Regions from separate parts of the Homo sapiens genome. Here regions 2, 3, 4, 5, 6 and 7 are each linked to region 1. Evidence: promoter capture Hi-C in 16 types of primary human blood cells and fetal thymus (Javierre and others, 2016). All regions are on one chromosome and are shown on one strand. Each heading gives the region's core, a stretch centred on a gene start or on the middle of the fragment in contact. The rest is flanking DNA. Distances are from core to core; before and after follow the strand shown.

Region 1 (3,508 bases), core at 440-2,939:
GTATATTTTTTCTTTGGGAGACCTTAGATGCAGAAAGTTGACATCTGACCCACATTCCTTGGTTCACGGTGCTCAGGCCCTCTTTAATTTTACCTTGCACTTTTACCTCTCACCCTACTCCCAGACTCCCTAGAGGTACGTTCTCGCTTAACGATTTTCTCAGCGGTTTAAGGAAGGCTGCTCTCGCTGGTCTCCTTCAACTTGAACCATTCCACAGCCGGGGGCCAGTTTCCCCTCTGCATCTACGCTGTCCGCACGGCCTTCCAGGTCGGTGGAGGGACTAGCCTGAGCAGAGGTTCCAGGGCGCGACGGCTATTTCCCAGCTGTGTGACCTGGACCAGGTGGCCGCCCCTCTCTGAGCCTCCGTTAGCTCATCAGAAAATTGGGGGCGCCAATCTCTAGCACGGTTGTCATGAAGCGAAATCGAGGGGCTGCACGCGCAAAGTTTTTTCCCTTGCTGTGGCGGTGCCAGGGGCCTTGAGGCTCGCAGTGGTGGTGAAACCACAACCTATCAAAACCAAGCAGTTCGTTTTACAGTCGGGGGCAGTGAGGCCAGAAAGGGAAGAGACGGTCTCACCCCTCTCCCCGACCCCTGACCCCAAGGAGTGAACAGGTGACAGCGCGACTATCGGGCAAGGTCAGGGGGTCTCCAGAGTCCGCTCTCTGTACTTCGCCTGGCAGGAAATCCCCTCGCCTGGGCGCAGACGTGGGGCGTGAACGGTGCGGCCTCTAGACGGGAGCGCAGAGGGCAGCGCTCTAAAGCTTCTGAAGCCGGGCCCAGCCCAGGGCTTCTCCAGGGCTTGAGGGAGCACAGATTCCGCTACATCCCAGCCCAGCGCCCTTACAGCAGAGGGAAATAGTTAACAAGACGTGCAAGTGACCATGCACTGGACGACGAAGGCTTGTGTGTGTGTTAATCTCCCGTAGGAACGGGAATGGGGAGGAAGGTTGGAAACCTAGGAAAAGGTGCCAGCGGGAAGGCCCGCAGCGGCGCCCGCGAGCTCGCGCGCAGGAGTCCGTAGGACTCGCTTGCATCCGCAGGCCCGTGGTCCCCCTGGCTTCGAATGTCAAAACCTGTTAGGTTTATTTTGGGGGGCTTTTTTTTAACCTGTCATTAAAATTTGCATTTCCCTTTGCCCTAAGGCAAAGCTCCGACACCCCGCCAATTCTCAGCCTAGCCTCGGGAGCCCTGGGGATCCTGGCATCTCCCCAGCCCCGCCTAGAATCGGAAAAGCCCTCGGGCGCCTCCGGGTTGAATCCCCGCTAGCGAGTTAGTAGCATCTCCTTAAGAGTGGAGAGGAGGGGGCAGGGGCCAGTGGAAGGAGAGAGGAGGAGGGGACGAGAGAGGGGGAAAGGAAGAAGCAAGGCAGGGAAAAAAATTTACTTATTTTTTTTTTCCGCTGCAAAACCTTAAGAGGGTTTGGGAGATCTGGTCAACTTTCCGAAACATCTGAATCTTTTTACTGCCCTCCGTTCTTTCCCTCGGCTAGCTGTGGGGAGGGAGGAAAGAGAGAGAGGGAGAGAGAGAGGAAGGGGGGGGGAGGGAGGGGAAGAGAGAGAGAGGAGGGAGAGAGAGGAGAGAGACAGAGAAAGAAGAGGGGGAGAGAGAGAGAGGCCGGCGTGGAGGGGAGGAGGGAGAGCGAGCAGGCCGGGCAAGGAGTGCACAGCCACAGCCTCCTCGCCTCCCCAAACTCCCAGCCAAGGCGCGCGGTGGCGTCCTCGCGCCCTCGCTCGCGTCCCCGCCCGCCGCCTGCGCAAGCCAGGCATGAATGCTGAGACTTGCGTCTCTTACTGCGAGTCGCCGGCCGCTGCCATGGACGCCTACTACAGCCCGGTGTCGCAGAGTCGGGAGGGCTCGTCGCCTTTTAGGGCATTTCCCGGAGGCGACAAGTTCGGCACAACTTTCCTGTCGGCCGCCGCCAAAGCACAGGGATTCGGGGACGCCAAGAGCCGGGCCCGTTACGGCGCTGGGCAGCAGGACCTGGCGACACCCCTGGAGAGTGGAGCTGGGGCGCGGGGCTCCTTTAACAAGTTCCAGCCCCAGCCGTCGACCCCGCAGCCCCAGCCGCCGCCGCAGCCGCAGCCGCAGCAGCAGCAGCCGCAGCCCCAGCCGCCCGCGCAACCGCATCTTTACTTGCAGCGAGGCGCCTGCAAGACGCCCCCGGACGGCAGCCTCAAACTCCAGGAAGGCAGCAGCGGCCACAGCGCGGCCTTGCAGGTTCCCTGCTACGGTGAGTGCACGTGCGGGTCACCTGGTGCTGGGGACCACGGGGTGCTTGGCTTCCGCATCCCTTGAAACTGGTGGCTTGCGGGAGGTATGAGTTGGCGGGCTGGGGGCGGGGTGGTGACTCTGGTCGGTAAACGGGATCGATCGCTGCGAGGGAGCCAAGGGATCTGTTCTGTCTCCTTCTTGTCCGCCGGCCTAGGCACGGAGCGTTTCGGCTGTTAAACTCGACTTGGAGTTTGTTTTTCCCGGTCCCTTCGGCATTTCCCCAAACCGCTCGCTTTGCGCTGCCCGCTGGGCGGGATTTGAAGCGGATGCTTCTTACCGGCCCAGGGCGTGCGGCGGCAAGGAGTCTCCGCGCAGCGCTCTGGCGCTGGGCTGCGGGGCTGCGGGGCTGCGGGGCTGCGGGGCTGCGGGGCTGCGAGGCTGCGGGGCTGCGGGGCTGCGGGACAGCAGGACTGCAGAAGCCTCGCTCCTCGCCGGCTGGGAGGCTCCTCGGGCGGCGCCGCCGCAGGTGAGAGCGCCGCAGGTGCGGAGCCAGGCGGGAAGCCCGGAGCGTGGTTGGCCGAAAGCTCACGGGAAATCCAGGCGCACTGGCGCAACACAGTGCGGAGCCAGAGACCCTAGGGTCCCAGGGGACACTGTGGTCTGGCAAGACCCGAGTCCTGGGACCCTGAGCGCTACTGGCAGTGGGGATGCGGGCAGGCCAGTTCCCCTGGAGCTTCTCCCTCGGCGATTCTTGGAGGCGGCAGGCCTCTGAACAATGGTTTAGGACAGAGTAGGAAGGGAGACAGGAAGTCCCGAGTCCCAGGTGGCCCAGAGCTGTGGCAAGAGAGAAGGGTCTGGGTCCTGATTTGAGCCCACGGGGAACCCGGGGGAGCTGGCCTAAATGACCTCCAAGCTGCCTTGAACGCAGCCACAGGAGGCAGGCCTGGGCCCCCCAGAGCACAGCCACCATTGCCCGGGAGAGAGAGACACTCAAGGACGTCTCTAGCCAGAGCAGCTCAGTAGCCTAGGCCTTCTCTTCTTCCAGAGAATCGGGGTTCCTGAACCCCAAAGCGGAAGGGGAAGCAAAGACGCAGAAAGGGAAAAACCTTCTCTGGGCCAGGAGTCCTGAGCACATACCCGGAGGCCTTGGCCTTCAGGTCCGGCCCTGGTGGGAAGAGTTGGGGGCAGGGAATTTGCCCTGATCCAGGCTGATGGAGAGGCACTAGGCCTGGGGACAGAGGCTGGGACACGGCGGAGGCCTTGGTGGCTAGAATAACTTTGGGAAAACAGCCGATG
Region 2 (3,508 bases), core at 549-3,048, 250 kb before region 1:
AAAACAAAACAAAACAAAAAAACTGGCTTGGGCTGGATAGGCAGTCTAGGTTTTTAAACACCCAAAGCATGATCAAGGTCAGGTGTGGGCTCTGGGTGGCCACAGGTGCCCTCTTGTCCAGGTCTATGGTGACATTGCCATTTGGCCTTGTCTCCCCAGCTTCTAGCACATGCCTGGAAGCTTAAGGGACAGTTGTTGAGTAGATGTGCATCTGAGTCTAACTTAGTCCATTTTCTGTTGCTATAACACAATACCATAGGCTGGGTAATCGATAAAAGAATTTTATTTTGTATAGTTCTGCAGCCTGGGAATTCCAAGGTTGAGAGGCTACATCTGGTGAAAGCCTTCTTACTGACTCATCACATGGTGAGAGGGCAAGGGCATGCCACCGCAGGTCTCTCTTCATCCTATTATAAAGCTACCAGTCCTCATCATGAGGGCCCCATCCTGATGACCTTATCTAATCCTCCCAAAGGCCCTACCCCCAAATACCATCAACATATGAATTTGGGGATTCAGTTTCCAATACATTCAAACCATAGCAGAGTCATTCACTGAAATATCACATTGGGTTGGCTCCCTCAGCATTGTCCCTATCCCCTCTCTTCCAGCAGAAGGCAAGCTTTGTCATGACTCACCTTGGGCATTTTGCCAGGCAGAAAGCGCAGACACTTCTAGTGAGACTCTACCTCTAGTCCATTCTAGAGGTGGAGCCAGGAGTTCTGGAGGTGGGAAAAGGGGTGAGAAGAACCACCCTAGAAAGCCTTGAGAGAAGATATCCATGGCCAACTTGGAGATGGGGAAGACGGTGGTGTGGCAAGACCTCAGAGAGGTATGGCTATAGGATTGCCAGGCTCTCAGAAGATTCCCCCACCCCAAAGGTGGAAGATGAACAGCTGAGCAGGAGACTTCAAAGAACTTGTAGGCAAGAACATGGGGGCCAGTTCCCTGTTAGTGTCTGGGCCTAGGTTAAGGCCCCAAGACTTTTGCACATCTCTGGTGGAGGAAGGTAAAGAGAATGAGTGCGGGTATCTGTTTCCTACTGTTATGTAACAAACCATCCCACTCATTTATTTTGCCCATAAATCTGCAGTTTGGGGTGGGCTCAGCAGCAACGGCTTATCTCTGCTCTACGCAATGTCAGGTGGTTCAATTGGAGGTTGGGGATCCATTTTCAAGATGGTGTACTCACACACCTAGCAAGTTGGCACTTGCTGCCAGCTGGGAGGTCAGCCAGAGCTGTGGAGGCCTTTGGTCCTCTCCATGAGGCTGCTCCACAGGTTGCTTGAGCTTCTTCATAATTTGGCTGCCGGTTTTGAAGAACAAAGACTCACTTAGAAGTGCATGGCATTTTGTGACCTAGCCTTAGAAGTCATATAGGATCACTTCCTTTGCATCCTATTAGTAGAAGCAGTCACCAAGGCCCTGGTTCAAGAGCAGGGTACATAGTCTCTTTCTTAACCAGGGGGTAACAAAATTCTAGAAGAGTTTTCAAGAAAGGAGATATTGTTGCAGCCATCTGTGAAAAATACAATCTGCCCCAAGCGAGTCCTCAGAATGACTGGAGGAGGGTTTCTCTGATGGGAGCTGAGAGTTCAAACTCAATTGATTGTTTTAAAAAATGGTATACAGTATGTATCACACAAGCATTTGTGCACAAATGAATAAGAAGTTCAGCAGTGGACAACTGGTCTTGAGTAGCTGGATGTCTTTTTTTTGTTTTTTTTTTAGATGGAGTCTCACTCTGTTGCTCAGGCTGGAGTGTGGTCGTGCGACCTCGGCTCACTGCAACCTCTGCCTCCCAGGTTCAAGTGATTCTCCTGCCTCAGCCTTGTGAGTAGCTGGAACTACAGGTGTGTGCCACCACGCCCAGCTAATTTTTTTGTGTTTTTAGTAAAGACTGGGTTTCACCATGTTAGCCAGGATGACCTCGATCTCCTGACCTCGTGATCCACCCACCTCGGCCTCCCATAATCCTGGGATTACAGGCGTGAGCCACCGCGCCTGGCCTAGTAAGTGGATGTCTTAAGATCTTTCTTCAAGAGTCCTCAGAATAGAGTTAGCACTTCCCTCCCTAAACCTGCACTGTTTCCTTAAAGTTACAAACTTAAAAATTGCACTCATTTAATCCTGATAGCAACAACCCAGTGAGGCACATACTATTATGAGGCCCATTCCCAAGATGTGGAAATGGAGCACTCAGATGCTAAAGTCATACAACTAACAAGTGATGGAGGAAAGTGAAGTTGCAGCTTATATATAGCTAACCCAATTTTCAGTTCCTGAAATTGAGCCCTAGGGGAAAGGCCCAAGTTGGGACCCAGTGAGCGCCCAACACTGAATCGCAAAAGCTCGCACTGGATCAAGGAGGTTCCCCAGGGCCTTGAAGGGACCCTGCTTCCTGCTTACAGAAAGAAGGCTGGCCCCAGAAAGCTGGGCTCCAGCACTTGCTTGGCATAACCCCGCCCTATCCTCTGTCCTCTTGCCGAGTCTCAGGCCAGGAAGTGGTTAATAGCACTTTCCCACACTTTCTGTTTCCATTTCTCTATTCCTGAACACAGTCATTCCTGCATTTGAATGGGCTCAGCAGGACCACCGACCTTTATTTTTTTCTCCAAAGCACTTAAAGGGGATTGGAACTCTAAGCCCATTATAGCTGGGTTGTAGCTGAGGACAGGGGCTGAGTTCCCACAGAAGACACTGAGCCATTGATTTGTTCCTGTCTCAGTCATTTCAGAAAGATCAGTGAGGCCCCTGCTCAAATCCTGCCCTGCCGCCTACTACATCTGAAGGTCCAGGGGTTACTCTTCAGGGGGCTTTTAGCCCCTGTACATTGCCATGTTGCCATAGCAACTACGACACTAATAATGGCAGCCACCGTTTTAAAAGTAAGCTGTAAAATAACTAATTTAAATATATTTAACTAATTTGATAACTAGCATTTGCGTAGCACTTTACATATTCTAAAGCTTATTTATATTTATCTTACAACTGTGGCACTTGGGTAAGTCTTTGAAACTATTAAATCATGTCCCCCCCTCCCCAAATTCCCTGTTCTACCCGTTTATTTTTCTTTTTAGGCATCAGCTTAAACCCATGGTAGGGTTATATACATCCCAATATATGTCATTTGTTTATAATAGATATGTATGTACTATTTTATTAGCCATTTTGCATAATATGAACTATGCACAAAGACAAATATTTTATTTTATTTATTATTATTATTATTATTATTATTTTTGAGACAGATTCTCACTCTGTCGCCCAGGCTGGAGTGCAGTGGTACAATCTTGGCTCATTGCAACCTCTGCCTCCTGGGTTGGAGCAATTCTCCTGCCTCAGCCTCCCAAGTAACTGGGATTACAGGTGTGTTTCACTCACGCCCAGCTAATTTTTTTGTATTTTTAGTAGAGACGGGGTTTCACCATGCTGGCCAGGCTGGTCTTGAATTCCTGACCTCAGGCAATCCACCCACCTCGGCCTCCCATAATGCTGGGATCACAGG
Region 3 (3,508 bases), core at 574-3,073, 230 kb before region 1:
AAAAGTGAACTCAGCAACAGTGAGGAAAAGTGCAGATGAGTGTTCACAGGTCAAGAGCTTTCAGCTTTACAAGAATAATAACATTTAATAACAGATAATGAGGAGGAGGATGGTAATAGAAATGGTAATGCAATGGTAGCTGTAATGGAGATAGAGATCTGCTGTTTCTGATGGTGATGGAGTTGGTGATGGAGGAAATGGTGATAGATAGTTGTTAGAGTTGTTATGAGAATGAAAATGGTGGTGTTACTAGTGACACTGATGGTGGGAGAGGTGGTGATAACATTGATGGCAATGATAACAATGCTGATGATGGTATCTGATGAGAATTATGTGGTTGCTATGGTGATGAGGATGGTAATGGTGTTTGCTATGGTGGTGATGATGGAGATGGTTGCTATGGTGATGACGATGGAGGTGGCGGTTGCTATAGCGATGATGATGCAGATGCTGGTTGCTACAGTGATGATGGGAGTGATGACTGTAGTGATGAGAAGAATGGTGAAGTGTGATGGTGAGGTAATGAGAGGTCATTATGGTGATGATAATGATGGTGGTGGTGGTGATAGTGATGATTGTGTTGCTGATGATGGTGGTGATCCTGATGACAACAATGGTAATGCAAGAATGGCATTGACATTGGTGGTGTTAATAGCGATATCGATGGGAGCTCTTTTTATGGCTGGATATAGAATTGTGAATCACTTCTCCCTGGTCATGGATCACCTTTTCTTCATGAGATGACAGCTAGATTTATAATTCCAGATCTGATCTGTTCAACAGTTCCTGGACTCATATATGCATTTTTATGTCTCATCTCTTCTCATGCAACCACATGTGGAACTCTTCTTCCCTTTAGCATCTGCCCCACACCTGTTCCTCCTGTCATCCTCATCTAAGTAAGTCACAGCACCATTCATCCACGGTGCAAATTCTAGGACATACCCTTGGTTCCTTCCTTTGACATATCTTCCCCATCCACCCCGATTTCCAGCCCTTCAGTAAGCCCAGCCACCTCTACCTTCCAATGCTTTTGATCTGCCTCCTTCCACCCTTTTGTTCCAAGTCACCGTCATCGCCCTCCTGGCTTAATGCAATCATCTCCTAACTGGACAACTCAACTCCCTGGTTTCAGTCTTTTTTATTTTTATTTTTTATTTTTGGAGATAAGGTCTCACTCTGTTGTCTGGGCAGGAGTACAGTGGTGTGATCACGGCTTACCGCAGCCAGCCTCCAACTCCTGGGCTCAAGTGATCCTCCCACCTCAGCCTCCTGAGTAGCTGGAACTACAAACGTGCCACCACACCCAGATAATTTTTTTTTTTTTTTTTTAGAGACAGGGTCTTGCTATGTTGCCCAGGATGGTCTCCTGGCCTTGAGTGATCTTCTCACCTGGATCTGCCAAAATGCTGGGATTATGGGCGTGAGCCACCACACTTAGCCTGGCTTTCACTCTTGCCACCCTACAATCCTTCTCCTCTCAGCAGTCAGAGTGATACTTTACAAATGCAAATCAGACCTTATCATGTTTCTGCCCCAAACTTTCCTACAGTGTTTTATTGCCCTGGACAAAAATCAAAGCTTTTTTTTTTTTCTCTAGGCATGTGCTCTAACCCCCGCCTAGTTGTCTGACCTCCTCTCCTCTCATGCTTCAGTCACACTTTCTGTTTCTCTAATGCCCCAAGCACCTTCCCACCTCGGGGCCTTTGCATCTGCCATTCCCTCTGCCAGAAACACTCAGTTCCTAGATCTGCACAGCCAGTGGCAGCGTAAGAATTCAAACCAGCTGGGTTGGCCTCTCTCAGCACATTGCTTTGCTTTATCTGCCCTATGATATTTATCACCATCTTCATCTTATTTACTTATTAGGTCATTATTAGACCCCCTCCCACAACAAGAGTGTAAGCCTCATAAAAGCAGGACCTATGTCCTTGTTTCCCACTGTGTCCCCAGCATTGAGAACAGTGAATAGTAGATGTTCTACAAATGGCTGTGAATAAATTGATTGGCTCAAGAGACAAATTAGACACATACCTCACTCCAAGTAAGTTAAAAATCAAGCTTATGACCACGTGATCTCCTCAGTGAACACAGATCATCCTTCCTCCTCTGCTCTTGTGCCCTCTACTCCCTCCCCAGTTCACCTCCCAAATCTGATCACAGCTTCTGGTTTGAGTTCCTTGCTCCACCCCTAGAGTAACCATTGCAACACATAAATCTATTTTCTTCTGCTCCTCCACCTTCCCAAGATGCCAAGAGGAAAGAAGCGCAGGGGGAAGAAAGTGGCCCCGGCCCCTGCTGTCATGGAGAAGCAGGAGACCAAGAAAGTGGTGAATCCCCTCTGTTAAGAAAAGGCCTAAGAATTTTGGCACTGGACATCCAGCCCAAAAGTGACCTCAGCCGCTTTGTGAAATGGCCCTGCTATATCAGGTTGCAGCGGCAGAGAGCCATCCTCTATAAGTGGCTGAAAGTGCCCCCTGTGATTAACCAGTTCACCCAGGACCTGGACCACCAGCTACTCAGCTGCCTAAGCTGACCCACAAATACAGACCAGAGACAAAGCAAGAGTAGAAGCAGAGGCTGTTGGCCCAGGCTGAGAAGAAAGCTGACAGCAAAGGGGACATCCTCACTAAGAGACTACCTGTCCTTCAAGCAGGAGTCAACACCGTTACCCCTTGGTGGAGAACAAGAAGGCTCAGCCAGTGATGACTGCATGTGAACAGACGTTTGGTTGCCAGCCTGCTGCTTCCCGCAGAGAAGAGTGTGCATGCTAGGCCGATCACCTCTCAGCAGGTAGCTTGGAGACAATGGGCCTAACCATTTTGAGTAGCACTTGACATGACGAGGATCCCATCGAGCTTGTTGTCTTCCTGCCTGCCCTGCATTGTAAAATGTGGGTCTCTGATTGCATTATCAAGGGGAAGGCAAGACTGGAACGTCCAGTCCACAGGAAGACCTGCACCACTGTTGCCTTCACACAGGTTAACTCAGAAGACAAAGGAGTTTTGATGAAGCTGGTGGAAGCTGTCAGGACTAATTACAACGACAGATATGATGATATCCGTCGTCACTGGGGAGGCAATATCCTGGGTCCCAAATCTATGGCTTGCATTGCCAAGTTGGAAAAGGCAAAGGTTAAAGAACTTGCCACTTAACTGGGTTAAATGTACACTTTCATTTTCTGTACATAAAAATCATTAAAATGATACAAATTCTCCTTCAAAAAGAATTTTCCCTCTTCCCTGCTTAAGACCTATCGATGTCATGCATGCACTGATTTCCACACTGGGGTCGGCAGCTTTTGATGGTTCCTTAGGAATCCAGAGGAGGTGGGGGATGGGCAGAGCAAGTGTGGTTCCTAACTTCACATCCCCCCAACCCCTACTGCCAGAGAAGCCTTACTTGTACCAGGTGTACAGAGAGGCAGTCCCATAACCTTGAGATGAAGGTCAAGGCTTCAAAGCCAGGCGGCCTGCATTCAAAACCTGACTCTGCATCTTTCAAGCTT
Region 4 (3,508 bases), core at 696-3,195, 210 kb before region 1:
AGTGGCAACTTGGGAAGTGGTTGGGTCACCGCCAGGGTTCCAGCTCCCATGGGCAGCCCCCTGCCTGACTGTGGTTCCGGTGTCCCACACCTAGTCTGGTTCCCAGGCTTTGGGTATCGGCACTTCCTCCCCGGTCTCTGGAGTCCCAGGTTGTCACAGCTGCCTGCCGCTGCTTGTCGGTGGGTGGCTCACCATCCCCGGTCAGGCCTTTCAGCTCCTCCAACACCTTCCGAACTAGCTCCCTATATCACATGCCCTCTGTTGAAATACCTGACTTGAGTTCTGGTTTCCTAGCTGGATCTTGACTAAGAGAAGCCCCTACTATGTGCCAGGCTGGGATCCCTGCCTTCAAGGAGCTTACAATCTAGTGCGGAAAGGGACGTTTGTCAAATCATCCCATGAATATGCATAAAAGTTCAGACAGCACCCAGTGCTGTGAAGGCCACTGTCGGTGAGGGAAGACCCTAGAGAGGAGGCTTGATCTCACTTGGGGCCTGGCAGGCACCTCGAGGAAGGGATGTATCTAAGAGGTAGTGTGTCTGATGCTCTGTGTACACCATTTCTCAACCTTGGGGCAATCCTGCAAGATCAGGGTCACTGTCCCCATTTTGTAGATGAGGACATGGAGGCCCAGCGAGGAGCACCCTCTGTTGCAGCCTCAGGATCCCGGGGAGACTGGCTGTGACTGGGACTCGGGTCTACCCACTCTTTGCTGCCTACTGTCTGGGACTGACATTTTGCAGAAGAGGGAATCAGCCTAGAGAAGCACAGTGACTCCTCCAGGGCCACCAAGCCAGGGGAAACCAGGTCACCTCGTCCTGGTGTAGATCCTGAAGGCTGCCTCTGCCCTGTGAGATTTCCCATGTCACTGCTCATTTGCACACTCAGCGCTTCCTCCTCCTCCTCCCAAGCTTCCTTCCAATTGGCGGCTGAGGCAGCATCAGAAACCACAGTGCTGGGCCCAGTGCCAGAGCCTCCCCCTCAGTGACCCCCTTCCCACGTCCTGAGTTTCTGAGACTAGCTCTGTCCAGGGGGAAGCTTTTCCAGCCCTTTCGAGCCCACGTGCACTCGAGAGTATGTGTGAAAACGTGCACTTACCTGGAGCATGTCTTCCCTGTGGTGTGCAGCGAGGGGCAAATAGGGCCCTCTCTAAGATTAGCCCCCAACCCCCGCCCCCGACACACACACACACTAATTTCCACAAGTATGGGCAGGACTTTCTGCTGAAGTCATCACAGATGGGTGGAGTTCGGGGGTGCTTGGTATCCTGGGGGTTTTCAGGGCAGTGTAGCCCCTGCACCAGGCGCTGCGTGCCTGGGGAGACACCAACAGCTTGCTGGCTAGGTGGTGGCCAGGCAGGGACAGAGAGCAGGCCCAGAGGGAGCCGGGGAGGCAGGACTCCAGGACATCTGGGCTGGGGGAAGGTGGAAAGTGCAAAATATCCGTGCAGGAGGTGAAGGCCTGGATGTGTAAGGCCCTGAGGTCTCTGACAGGAAGTGAAAACCTCAGGGAACTGGAAGCTTGGCTGGGAACAGGCCGTGAGAGGGAAACTCGGCCACACGGAGAAGCCGGCCGAGGCCTCCTTGAGCAGATGGGGATACTGAGGCTGAGGCAACTGCTTTGCTCAAGGGACTGGGAGTCTTTTTTATTTTCCACCCCACCGTTCCTAGATTAAAGCCAGCTGAGAATATTGCTTCTGTGACAGCCCGATTACCTTGGCCTAAATTTTCTAGTGGGTGAGGAGAGGCAGCACTGTGCTAACATAGCCAGCTTTTTTTTTTTTTTTTTTTAACTTTTTTAGTGACAGGGTCTTACTCTATCACCCGGGCTGGAGTGCAGTGACACAATCAATGACTTGCTGCAGCCTTGAACTCCTGGTTTCAAGCAAACCTCCTACTTCAGCCTCCTGAGTAGCTGGGACCACAGGCATATGCCACCACACCTGGCTAATTTTCCAATTTTTTGTACAGACAGGATCTCATGTTATTTAGGCTTGTCTGGGACTCCTGGCCTCAAGCAATCCTCCTGCCTCGGCCTACCGAAGTGCTGGGATTACAGGCATGAGCCACTGCACCCGGCCACCAGCATTTGTTAAAGTCTCACCACGGATCAGGCTCTCATCTAAAAAACTTGAAGTTGTCATTCTGTGTCCTTACAGTAACCCCTCAAGGTAGGTGTCACTCTCATCTCCATTTTACAAATGAGAAAAGAGGCTAACTAAGGGAAGTTAAAGAGCTTGCCGAAGATCACATAGCCAGAATTTTAATCCGAGGATCTGGAGCCTCTTTTGCGGTGCCATCAAAGGCTTGCTGGCTCCCCCTGGTGTGCCCTCAAGGCAGCTGCCTGTGACTGTCCTGTAGGGGAAGCTTTGCAGATAGGGGACCTTTGTAGATCGTCGATATCCTGGGCTCTGCGCATGCTGTGGTTCCTCTGCCTGAAATGCTCTTCCTGCCTCTTCTTCTTCTTCTTCTTCTTCTTCTTCTTCTTCTCCTTCTCCTTCTCCTTCTCCTTCTCCTTCTCCTTCTCCTTCTCCTTCTCCTTCTCCTTCTCCTTCTTCTTCTTCTTCTTCTTCTTCTTCTTTCTTCTTCTTCTTTTTTTTTTTTTTTTTGATACGGAGTCTTCCTCTATTGCCCAGGCTGGAGTGCAGTGGCTCAATCTTGGCTCACTGCAACCTTCGCCTCCTGGGTTCAAGAAATTCTCCTGCCTCAGCCTCCCGAGTAGCTAGGACTACAGGCGCACACCATCATGCCTGGCTAGTTTTTTTGTATTTTTAGTAGAGACGGGGTTTCACCATATTGGCCAGGCTGGTCTTGAACTCCTGACCTCGTGATCTGCCTACCTTGGACTACCAAAGTGCTGGGATTACTGACGTGAGCCACCGCGCCCAGACTTCCTGCCTCTTTTCTAGTGTCCTGGCCTGCTTTGGAGCTCAGTCTGAAGTTAGCTCCTGCTTTGGGGGTTACCTCCCCCTGAACTCCAGGCTAGGCTGGGTTTCCCTGTTTTTCCTCCCAGAGCACCTGTATATCTTCTTTGTAGCATTCATTCATTCATTCATGTTTCATTCAGTAAGTATCTACTCAGAGCACATGGTAAGTCAGGTGCTGGAGACAGAGCACAAAGGGGTCACAACTCCCACCCTCGTGGTGTGCACTGTCTAGTGGGGAAGACAGGAAAACAAAGAAATGCATAACCTTGTACCAAATACTCATACTCCTACTTTTTGAAAAATCAGGAAAGGGGATGGAGATTGATGGGGTGGTATTTTAGACATGGGGGTCCGGAAAGGTCACTCAGAAGAGGTGACATTTGAGCAGAGATGTGAGCAAAGTGATTTGTCATAGCATGCCTTAATTATTCTCTGAACTTCTGTCTCATGCCTGTCTTTTCTACTGGGCTATAGCTGAAGACAAAATATTTGCCAGTCTTGTTCATGAAGGTATTCCAATGCCTAGAACATTGCTTTTGCACATAGTAGGTGCTCAACAAACGGGCCTTGCACACAGTAGGT
Region 5 (3,508 bases), core at 1-2,500, 210 kb after region 1:
GATGAGCCATCCCCACCAAGCTCTGCATAGATTCCACAATCATCAGCAAATAAATGACTGTTGTTGTTTAAAGCTTCTAAGTTTTGGGGTGGTTTGTTATACAGCTATAGATATATAAAACAGCCAATAAGCATTATTGACTGAGATGTAAAGAAAATTTGTAGTCCTCAGCTAAAAATGTAGAGTTCCCATGTAGACCACATTTTAAGATCCTTACCAAACAAGCCTCTCCTATATGATTCCCGGATACTGTTTCGGGGGAGGGCAGAGCCTTGAGTGTGGCTGCATCATCTGCCACATACTTACCATGTTACTGCAACAAGCTATTTTGGCATCCTGCATGTCAAAATACCAATCCACAAAAAGACAGCTGGGCACAGTGGCTCATGCCTATAATCCCAGCACTTTGGGAGGCCAAGGCAGACAGATCACCTGAGATCAGGAGTTCAAGACCAGCCTAGCCAACATGGTGAAACCCTGTCTCTACTAAAAATACAAAAATTAGCCAGGCATGATGGCAGACACCTGTAATCCCAGCTACTTGGGAGGCTGAGGCAAGACAGTCACTTAAACCTGGGAGGCGGAGGTGCAGTGAACCAAGATTGTGCCACTGCACTCCAGCCTGGGCAATAGAGCACGACTCTTTCTCAAAAAATAAAATAAAATAAAAATAAATAAACAAAATGGTATCATTCTACTCACGGATCTTCCAGGAAAGCTATTAATATAATGGGAAGTAACTGAAAAGCTCATAGACCATCTTAGAGTTATCAACCATTTTTGCTTCGGATAAATGGAGCTCTCCCCATCAGTGCCCACATGGTAAACTGCTTCCTGCCTAGCGAGCTGAGTATTGCCAAGCTTGAATGTTGCAATCACTTTCAGTTTTGGGGGTAAAATATGCTAAATGGTCATGAATCATTTCAAGTCATATCTCTCTAAGACCAGAAACTGGAACATAACAAGGAATTTGCCTATCATTGACTAATACATGAAAATTCATACATTTTGAGCTTAAAAGATTATCATCTTTGGAGTATATACATCAGTCACTCAATATATTCTAATTGTTCTATGACAGAAATGTGGCATGACAGCGATTTCACTTTTTCTATCATTCTAACAGTAAGCAGAATATTCCTGCCTGCTCCCATCCCCTACCAGCTGCAGGCCCACCCTATGGTATGGCTTCCTTGCCATTCTGCATATCCCTCCTGGAGTTTGAAGACAGGAAGTTTTGGGACAAATGCAGGCAAGGAGCTGCCCTCCGCTGGCCCATGTTAGAACTTCCCAAGAAGCTCTCAAGGTCTATGTGTATACTTGAATCAGTGGTTCCCCAACACCTGAAGGGTAAGAAGCACAAGAGTTTGTTAAAACAGATTCCTTGGCCCCACCACTGGAGGCTGTTATCAGTAAGTTTAAAATAGGGCCACAGAATATGTCATTTAAAAACAAGCTCCTCAAGTATTTTGTGCCATCTGGTTTTAAACCTTTATTAATATTAGACAAACTACCCTTTAATAGTGTTTTTCAAAACTTTTTTTAAACTAAAATTGACAGTAAGAAATATATGTTATATTGTGACCCAATATAGACAGATATATATATGTGTGTATATGGATATTTTAAATAAAGCTTCAAAAAACAACATTTAAGCTATGTACTGTGAGTACACAGTGTTAGCCACAGAACACGCAATGAACCCTCCATTTTTCTACTCTGTTATTCTATTGCTTTTTAAAAAATTCTGGCCATAACCTACTAGATCAATTATACCACCCAATAATGGGTCCTCCATAGCTTGAAAAATAGCTTCTATGTATGACAAAATTGAGGTTAAGGGAACAAAAACTGTATTCACACATGAGCTTCACAAATCTTTATGAGTTGCAGATTAACTATAAAAAAGACATATCACAACAAAGTAAAACCAAAGATAACAGAAGAAAATAATAAATAAAAGCACAGAGATTAATTAAAAAACAAAATAGAAATGGTCAACAAGGCTAAAAGTTGTTTGTTTAAAAACAGACTAATAAAATTCTGGTAAGATTAATCAAGAATTCAAGGAAAAAGGTGCAAATAAATACCTGAAAAGGGGAACATAACTCTAAATGCTGCATATATTTAAAAGATAAGATGGTATCAATGAATTTATGCCAGTACATTTGAAAACTCAGATAACATGGAAAAATTATTTTAAAATATACTTACCAAAAGCATCTCAAGGAGAAACAGCAACTCTGAGTAGCTCTATAACATTAAAGACACTGAATCAAAAGTTTAAAAATCTTCCTATAAAGAAAATTCCAGGCCCAGAAAATTTTCCAAGTTCTACCAAATATTCAAGAAATAATAATTCCAATTTTCCACAAATTATTCCAGAGTTCAGAAAAAAAAGAGGAAACACTTCAAAGCTCAGTTTAGGAGGCTAGCAAATGCTTCATACCAAAATCTTAGAACACTGGTTCTTGAAGTATGCTTCAGGCATCCCAGGCCCTTTCAAAGGGCTTATACTAGTTTAATACTGACATTTGCTTTATTCACTTCCATTTTCCAGAGGCTACATGACATATGACACTGCAACAGACTGAATGTAGAAGCCGATGGGATAATCCAACTGTGTTTTTTTAAGTTTTTCCAAAAATGATAAAATACATCAATTCACAGACTCAAGATGCTCAACTCAGAACAGAACATATATATATATAAAGAAAATGCTACCTAGATATATCAAAGCCAAACTGCTAAAAAGAAAGTTAAAGAAGAATATTAAAAGCAGCCAAAGGGGAGAAAAATCTATTCAAGGTATATCTTAAAACTAAATGTAAAAGGAAAAACTATAAAATATTTAGAACACAATAGAGAATATCAATGACATCTGGCAGAGAATGATTTCCAAAACACAAAAACCAGAAACCATTAAGAATTTTCCATCAAAAACACAATAAGGAAGTAAAAAGACAAGCTGCAAGCCTGAAGAATATATTTCCAGCACATATAAGCAACAGGGACTTGCAACCAGAATAAACTGTACGAAGCAATAAGAAAAAAACAAACAAAAAGAAAACAAAACAAACAAAAAACAGAAAACACACTTAAACAGGAATTTCACAGAAAAGGCAAAAAAGGCACATAAACATATAAAAAGATGTTTAGTCTCCTTAATGGTCATGGAAAGTAAGACCACAATGAGACCTATACCCAACAGCATAGGCAAATTAAGAGTCAAACACCACCAAGTATTGTTGGAGAAGATACGGAACCACAGGAACTGACTCCAGAGTCCCAAGTGGCCTCAGCAGAAGGAAGAGGGAGCTGACACTCACTATGTTAGTCTTAAGTATCATATTTTGCTTGCTACCTGTCATAGTTTGACTCCCCTCATACCCCCGACCCCGTGCAAAAAAAAAAAAAAAAAAAAAGAGAGAGACAGAGACAAAGACAGGAGTGCAAGTAGTCTACTTACTTGGGAGGTGATCTCAGAAAGCCACAGTGAGGGAGCAAG
Region 6 (3,508 bases), core at 663-3,162, 200 kb before region 1:
TTGTTTCAGCTCAAAGTTCCCCTTCAGAGAAGGTGCCCCTGACCACCTTCCTAAGGAAGACTCCTCCTCTAAGCGTCCCTCCATCGTATCATCCTCTTTCCTTTGTTGCACAGCATTGCTCACAGTCTGTGGTTATTTTGCCCTTTTCTGTGTTTTATTGGGATTTGTCTGCCTCTCCCTGCTGGAATGAATGCTTTACAAGACCCTGCTCTTCACTCACCCTACATCGCCCAGGACCACAACAGAAACCAGCATGCACTACTGGTTTTCTAGATAATTATTGACTAATTAACAAAAGAAGCTAGAGCAAGTTCCTTGTTTTGCCAAGACTATTGAGGCTAGAAAAACAAACTGACTTGTCCAAGATTATCATTTGAGTCAAGGACAGTGCTGGGGTGAAGATCCAGGTGTCCCAGCATTAGCCCAGGATGTGGCCACCTCCCTGTCTTTCAGCCAGACCTTTGGCAGAGCCACCAGCAGGTCCTCCTCTCTCTCTGCCTCATGGGGCAGAAATCTGCATCCATGACCTTCCTCTAAACTGGCTGGGCTTGTCTGGCTCCTGTGACCCAGAACCCAGCCCTGAAAGGCTGATTTAGGCTACTTGGATGTCTCACTCCTTCAGCTGGCCCAGCATTGCCTTGAGTGGCCCGTGTAGAAAGAAGGCAGGGAGAAAGGAGGCCCTGCTGGGGACCGGCTGGGGCCACATCTGGAATTAAGAGCCAAAAATGCAGCTTGGTGCTGATAAGGCTTTATTGAAAGGACATGAAAGTCCCGATGGCAGTAACTCTCCATGCTCCAGTTCACACTGCTTTACGAGGTGTGACTCACTCTGGTACCTTCGAGACGGCCTCTCTCCCACTCCATCCACCCTGCCTCTTCCCTGCTTTCCTGCTCCTAGCCCACCTTGGGCCTCCACACCCACCCTTGGCTTGGGGGGTGGGTGGAAGCAACTGCCCCCGCCCCAGAAAAGACCAAGGAGGCCTGGGGGTCCAGGCCCCTGTCCCAGGCTGCTTGCTCCCACTTTGCCCCATGGAAATTGAAACTTGGGAGCTGCCTGGCCCAAAACTGGTAAAAAAAAAAAAAAAAAAAAAAGATTCAGAGTGGCCCCTGCTCTGGGCTGGAGTTAGAAGTCCAAGGAAGAGAAAGTGATTGTGGAGTATATTAGTCAATTCTCACACTGCTATAAAAAAAAACTGAAACTGGGTCATTTATAAAGAAAAGAGGCTCATGGTTCAGCAGGCTATACAGAAAACATGATGGTGGCATCTGCTCAGCTTCTGAGGAGGCCTTAGGACACTTACAATCATGGCTGAAGGCAAAGGGGGAGTGAGCACTTCACAAGGCCGGAGCAGGAGGAAGTGTGGAAGGAAGTGCTAGACACTTTCAAACAACCATATCTCACGATCTCAATGACAGCAGTAAGGAAGGATGGTGTTAAACCATGAGAAACCACTCTTGTGATCCAATCACCTCCCACCACGCCACACCTCCACCATTGGGGATTACATTTCAACATGAGATTTGGGTGGGGACACAGATCCAAACCGTAGTAGGGGACCAGGAGAGCAACAGCAATGTGATAAAATGGGTGGGGTGGGAGACAGCAGAAGAGAGGCCAGGAGGCAAAGGGAAAGTGCTGTGCTGAGGAAACAGATAGCACTAGACTCATTGCTGCTGTAACACGCTTAGTCACCAAAAACAATAACAATGTATCATCTTATGGTTTTGGAGGGCAGAAGTCCAAAATGGGTCTGGCTGGGCTAAAATCAAAGTGTCTGCAGGGCTACATTCCTCCTGAAGGCTCCAGGGGAGAATCTACTCCTTTGTCTTTTGCATCTTCTGGAAGATACCCACGTTCTGTGGCTCCGGCTCCTTCCTCCATCTCCAAAGGTGGCGTGGCATCTTCAAATCTCTCTCCAGCTCTGACACCGACTCTCACTGCCCTCTTTCACTTGTAAGGACCACCCAGATAATCCAGGATAATCTCCCCAACTCAAGGTCAGCTGATTAACAACCCCAGTTCCTTCTATAATCTTGCTATGGATTGAATGTTTGTGTCCCTCCAAATTCATGGGTTGGAGCACGAAGCTCCAATGCAATGGTATTAGGAAATGGGGCCTTCGGGAGGTGATTAGGTCATGAGGGTGGGGCCCCCATGATGGGATTAGTGTCATTATAAGAGGAAAAGGGCTAAGTAAGCCCTCTCTCTGGCCTCAGCCATGTGAGGACTTGGTGAAGAGGCCTGTCAACAAGCCAGGAATCGAGCCCTAACCAGACCTCTACCCTCCTGGCCCCTTGACCGTGGACTTCCCAGCCTCCAGAACCTTGAGAAATAAATGCCTGTTGTTTAAGCCACCCAGTCTAGGGCATTTTGTTACAGCAGCTGAAGCAGACCAGGACAAACCTTAATTCTCCCTTGTCATGGAACATAGCATATCACAGATTCTGGGGACTAGGGCTTGGGGATATATGGAGGTGGTATTATTCTGCCTTTCACACAGGGTCACAGAGAGATCCTCTTGGGCCTCAGAGTCTCCATGTGGAGGGTGTGTGTGCTGTATGTGAAGGGTGTGTGTACAGAGGGTGTGTGTGTGTCTGTAGAATGTGTGTGTGAAGAGTATACGGAGGGTGTGTGTGTGTAGAGTGTATGGTGTGTGTAGGGGAGTGTGTATGGAGGGTGTGTGTGTGTGTAGAATGTGTGTGAAGAGTATATGCAGGGTGTATGAGGTGTATGTGTAGGGTGTGTGTACAGAGGGTGTGTGTGTGTGGAGGGTGTGGAGTGTGTGTGTATGTAGAATGTGTGTGTGCATGGAAAGTGTGTGTGGCGTGTGTGTGGAGAATGTGTGTGTGTGAAGAGTGTATGGAGGGTGTGTGTGTGTAGAGTGTATGGAGGGTGTGTGGTGCTTGTGGAGACAGTGTGTGTGTGTGTGGAGAGAGTATGGAGAGTGTGTAGTGTGTGTGTGTAGAGTGTATGGAGAGTGTGGTTTGGTGTGTGTGTGGTGTGTGTGTAGTGTATGGAGGGTGTGCGGTGAGTATGTGGAGACAGGGCGTGTGTATGGAGAGCATATGAAGAGTGTGGGGTGGTGTGTGTGTCGGGGGTGGAGAGTGTATGGAGGGTATATGTGCGTGTGTGGTGTGTGTGTGTAGGAAGAAAGGTAGGGGTGCACAGAACTGCACATCCTAGCAGGAAGCACTAGTGTGAGGCAGAATCCTAAGGCGGGTAACCCTTTGCAGGTGATAAACTCAGATGTGTAAGTCAATGTGACCTCTTTCTTTTTTCGGGATGAGCTGATTTCTCCCTGGACCCTCCCTGTGCTGATGCTGTATTGCGCGGCCACACCCACTGCCATGAGTTTCTCAGGATTTTACTGGGCCCAAGTGGGAGGCAGGGCTTCCTCGGGTCTGGGCAGCTGCCATCCTTTCATCCTCCAATGACGGTGATGATGGTGATGGCTGTTCTCAGCCGCCAGACCCTCAGGTTGGGACCGTGGGAGCAGCTAGGCCTCCT
Region 7 (3,508 bases), core at 297-2,796, 180 kb before region 1:
CCTTCCATCTCAGCCTGCCAAATAGCTGGGACTACAAGCATGCACCACTATGCCCAGCTAATTTTTTTGTATTTTTTTGTAGACATGAGTTTCACCATGTTGCCCAAGCTAGCCTTAAACTCCTGAGCTCAAGCATTCTTCCCGCTTCAGCCTCCCAAAGTGCTGGGATTACAGGTGTGAGCCACCGTGCTCAGCCTAATTTTGTATATGAACCTGCACATTTCTTATCAAACTTATTCCAAGATATTTTATTTTGCTGTTGTTTTTGCTGCCTTTGTGAACAGACTCTTTATTTTCATCATAGTACTTCTTGTTGCACCTTAAGAATACTACTGATTTTTGTATATTTATTTTGTAACTAGAACTATACCAAACAGTCTTATTGTTTACAACAGTTTTTAATTATCTTAGTCTTTCCAGCCTTCAAGATCCATGTTTCAGAAAGATTATTCTCCAGGAAAGACTGGAATGGGAGAGGTTGAAGGCCCAGAGTGAGGCCTGAGCTCTGGCTGGCCTCTCCTGCCAAATATGTTGTCTTTCTTGTAATCTATGTTAGAACTCAAAACTTTCAGCTTAATCCACAAGAATCTAGAAGCATTGCCTTTTCAATTGGCAATGAGGTAAAATAAATCTTCAGTTCCTTGAGATGTAATATTATCATGATTTACTCTCTGATGCAGTATTACGGGAAATCAATCAGTGTGGATGAAGGATAGTAATAAAGGCAAACATTGAATCGGCACTAGCTGTGTGCTGGGCACTGTCCTGATTACTTCACAGACACTGTCTCGCTCAATACTCAAGACAATTTTCAAGGTAGGTACCACTATTATCCCCATTTTACAGGTGAAGAAACTAAGGCACAGAACAGTAGAGCGGCTTGCCCAAGGTCACGTTGCTTTTAGTTGGTAGAAACAAGATTTGAACCCGATGGCTCCAGAGTCCATTGCTCAGAACCACTATAATAAAATGGGTTAGCTCTGTAGAAACCTGCTCTTTATTCAAAGCTCCAGAATAGCTTCCGAATCCCAAGCCCAGATTAAATGCAGGATTTCTCTCCTCTTTCTTCATCTCCTTTGATTCGGCCACCCCTGGAGGCCAGGGACTCCCAGCTTTCCACGCAGCCGAAGAATATTGAACCCCCAGGTCAGAGCTCCAAGTACAGAGTGAGGAGATGAGTTACAGGGCAGCGAGCACATGCTGGATTGGTATGCCAAGGCCTTGGAGGACCTCTGGTTTTAAAATGCAACTTTTTGCTAGGTGGATCTCTCATTTCATTACATTGCAGTCAATGGTTGAATTTTCTCCCTCTTTTGAAAATGGTTTTTAGTTTTTGGCCCTGACCTCTTGCTCTCTGGCCTGTCAGCCACATGATAGGGGGTGGAGGCTCCTCTCCTGTGCCAGACTGTTCCTGAGCAGGGTTTCCAGGCCACTAAGGCAACAGGGCCCAACCATTCTCTCAGAAAAACCCTATAGCTCCCCTCAGAGGCCCTGGACACACTGGCTGGAAATCAGTTTAACTGGCCAGTAGACCTCATGCTCTGGGAAATCAAACATGGCTGCACAGGTGACATTTGGGGCATTTCTAAATACATTTTGTATTAACAGTAATAATATTCATTCATTCATTTAACAAAACTTTATCTGATCCTTATTATATGCTGGAAATACAATGATAAATAAGACAGGTTCTTGCCTTCCTGGAATTTACATGCTAGGGAACTAACAAACAAACAAACAGACAAATAGATAAGAATTTCAAGTTGTTAGAAATGCTATCAATAAAGATAAAATAAACGGATAGAAAGTGGGGGATAAGGAGGTGTGACTTAAGACAAGTGGTCAGGGGAATCCTCCCTAATGAGCGGAAATTAGAGTTATACCTAGATGTTAGGAAGGAGTCATGCTGGGAAGAGCTGAGGGCTGGGTGTTCTGGACAAAGGGTGTTCCCTTTTGCTCACCATGGTATCCCAGGTTTTAGCTCAGAGCTGGCACTGAGTAGGAACTTAGTAATTGACAAGTGAATGAATCATGGCTCTTGGCAACTTTGAGTGGCTTTGCCTCTTGTCTGTGAGCTCTCAGGGGGAGATGCCTGGCTTAGAGCCCCTCTGCCTAGTTCCACCTGGCTCTCCTCTCTGGGAGAGCTCTGCTGGCCTCATCCTGCCAGATCCTTCCTCCCAGGTCGTCTGCTTTCCAGGCCCAAAGGCTGCATCGAGGGCCAAGATGGCTGCCAGAGCCAGGAGGGAGGGAGGGAGGGAGCGGGGAGGACCTGTGTTGGCAGAAGAGAGTTGGAGGCCCTCTTGTGTGGTGCCACTGGGGCTGGTGCTGGGTCTCAGTGTGGCTGGCAGTCAGTGGGCCGCAGCCAGCTCAGCCCTCCTATCCAGAAACACCACCCACCTCCAGGCTCCAGACCCCTCTCCACCCCGCTGGGCTGGGGATGCAGTCTCCATTAGGGAAAATGCTGAGTTAGACAGAGGCTTCCCCTTTGCCCGGCCTCCAGCCTTGTCTCTGGGTCCCTTACAGAAACACTTCATTTTCAGGCACAAGCTGAGGCCGAGTGGGGAAAGAAGCTCCACAGGCCAAATATTTGTAAGCAGAGCTGTTTTCCCAAGCAAAGCAGAACCAGATGCCACTGCCCTCCAGTGGAGGCCGGGCCCTGGCACTGGGAGGCCAGTCTGGGGGGTGGTCAGGGGGAGGCTGGCCAAGGATTGCCATGTGGGGTCCCGCAGAGCCAGCTGCTTCTTAAGATGTTCTTACGCAGTGGTGATCAGAATGTCACAGCATCCAGTGGGCCGCTTTTCCAGGCAGTTATCACCTGCCAAAACCCTGAGGCTCAAGGTTTTACCTGGTAGGAAAAACTGACCTAAGGCCTAGGTCTCAAAGGATTCTATATTTATTGATAATAGAAAGTGTGCCCAGCACCAACCACTTCATCAAGGATGAAAAATGGAAAAACAGGAGTCCTCAGGAGGGTATTTTTTTGAGCTTGAACTAGAAGTCTATCCTCAGGAAGCAGATCTTTAGGGTCTTAGACCCTGGGGAAGCCCCGAGTGTGGATGGAGATGGGGACTGGCCTCAGATCCGAATCTGCTTACTCTGTGAAACCACAGTAGATCCAGCAGAAGGCAGGAAGATTCCTTTATTTATTTATTTATGAGACAGCATCTTGCTTTGTCACCCAGTGGTACAATCACAGTTCACTGCAGCCTCAATCTCCTGGGTTCAAACGATCCTCCCACCTCAGCCTCCTGAGCAGCTGGGGCTACAGGCATGAGCCACCACACCTGGCTAACTTAAAAAATTTTTTTCTTGTAGAGATAGGGGTCTCCCTATGTTGCCCAGACTGGTCTCAAACCCCTGAGCTCAAGGGATCCTCTTGTCTCGGCTTCTCAAAGTGCTGGGATTATAGGTGAGAGCTTCCGTGCCTGGCCCAAAAACTCCTTAGTGAAAATTTGGAGGGATGCGATCTCTCTCCAGGAAATCTCCAGAGGAATATTTTTCTATGTTA

What was found. The method cuts DNA at HindIII sites, captures the fragments that hold promoters and counts their contacts. A CHiCAGO score of 5 or more calls a contact.
Region 2: a fragment that was not itself captured here is called in contact with the fragment with the promoter of ALX4 in region 1 in 1 of 17 cell types (total B cells); the score reaches 6.3 in total B cells.
Region 3: a fragment that was not itself captured here is called in contact with the fragment with the promoter of ALX4 in region 1 in 8 of 17 cell types (total B cells, naive B cells, M2 macrophages and 5 more); the score reaches 12.4 in total B cells.
Region 4: a contact is called between a fragment that was not itself captured here and the fragment with the promoter of ALX4 in region 1, in 8 of 17 cell types (megakaryocytes, naive B cells, M1 macrophages and 5 more). The highest score is 8.5, in megakaryocytes.
Region 5: a contact is called between a fragment that was not itself captured here and the fragment with the promoter of ALX4 in region 1, in 1 of 17 cell types (endothelial precursors). The highest score is 6.0, in endothelial precursors.
Region 6: a fragment that was not itself captured here is called in contact with the fragment with the promoter of ALX4 in region 1 in 1 of 17 cell types (neutrophils); the score reaches 5.3 in neutrophils.
Region 7: a contact is called between a fragment that was not itself captured here and the fragment with the promoter of ALX4 in region 1, in 1 of 17 cell types (M2 macrophages). The highest score is 5.0, in M2 macrophages.

What each region holds. Positions count from the first base shown.
Region 1 is chr11:44,308,320-44,311,827 of GRCh38, reverse strand. It overlaps ALX4 (ALX homeobox 4), which reads left to right and starts at 1,689. Exons shown (of 4, transcript NM_021926.4): 1 at 1,689-2,231. The coding sequence starts at 1,766. RefSeq lists an enhancer at 783-1,711. The HindIII fragment of the contact is 7,283 bases long and covers 765-3,508 here.
Region 2 is chr11:44,558,586-44,562,093 of GRCh38, reverse strand. No RefSeq gene overlaps it. Among named protein-coding and RNA genes, the nearest start is that of CD82, 5.3 kb to the left of the region's middle. RefSeq lists enhancers at 1-259, 2,295-2,931. The HindIII fragment of the contact is 2,347 bases long and covers 625-2,971 here.
Region 3 is chr11:44,539,435-44,542,942 of GRCh38, reverse strand. It overlaps the pseudogene RPL7AP79. Among named protein-coding and RNA genes, the nearest start is that of CD82, 24 kb to the left of the region's middle. RefSeq lists an enhancer at 2,542-3,148. The HindIII fragment of the contact is 480 bases long and covers 1,584-2,063 here.
Region 4 is chr11:44,522,501-44,526,008 of GRCh38, reverse strand. It overlaps LOC105376646 (a long non-coding RNA gene), which reads left to right. Exons shown (of 5, transcript XR_931232.1): 1 at 1-530; 2 at 1,971-2,170; 3 at 3,401-3,506. Among named protein-coding and RNA genes, the nearest start is that of CD82, 41 kb to the left of the region's middle. The HindIII fragment of the contact is 846 bases long and covers 1,523-2,368 here.
Region 5 is chr11:44,102,452-44,105,959 of GRCh38, reverse strand. All of the region lies in intron 1 of EXT2 (exostosin glycosyltransferase 2), which reads right to left. Among named protein-coding and RNA genes, the nearest start is that of EXT2, 8.5 kb to the right of the region's middle. The HindIII fragment of the contact is 774 bases long and covers 864-1,637 here.
Region 6 is chr11:44,503,850-44,507,357 of GRCh38, reverse strand. No RefSeq gene overlaps it. Among named protein-coding and RNA genes, the nearest start is that of CD82, 60 kb to the left of the region's middle. The HindIII fragment of the contact is 8,151 bases long and covers 1-3,508 here.
Region 7 is chr11:44,487,357-44,490,864 of GRCh38, reverse strand. No RefSeq gene overlaps it. Among named protein-coding and RNA genes, the nearest start is that of CD82, 77 kb to the left of the region's middle. The HindIII fragment of the contact is 5,220 bases long and covers 1-3,508 here.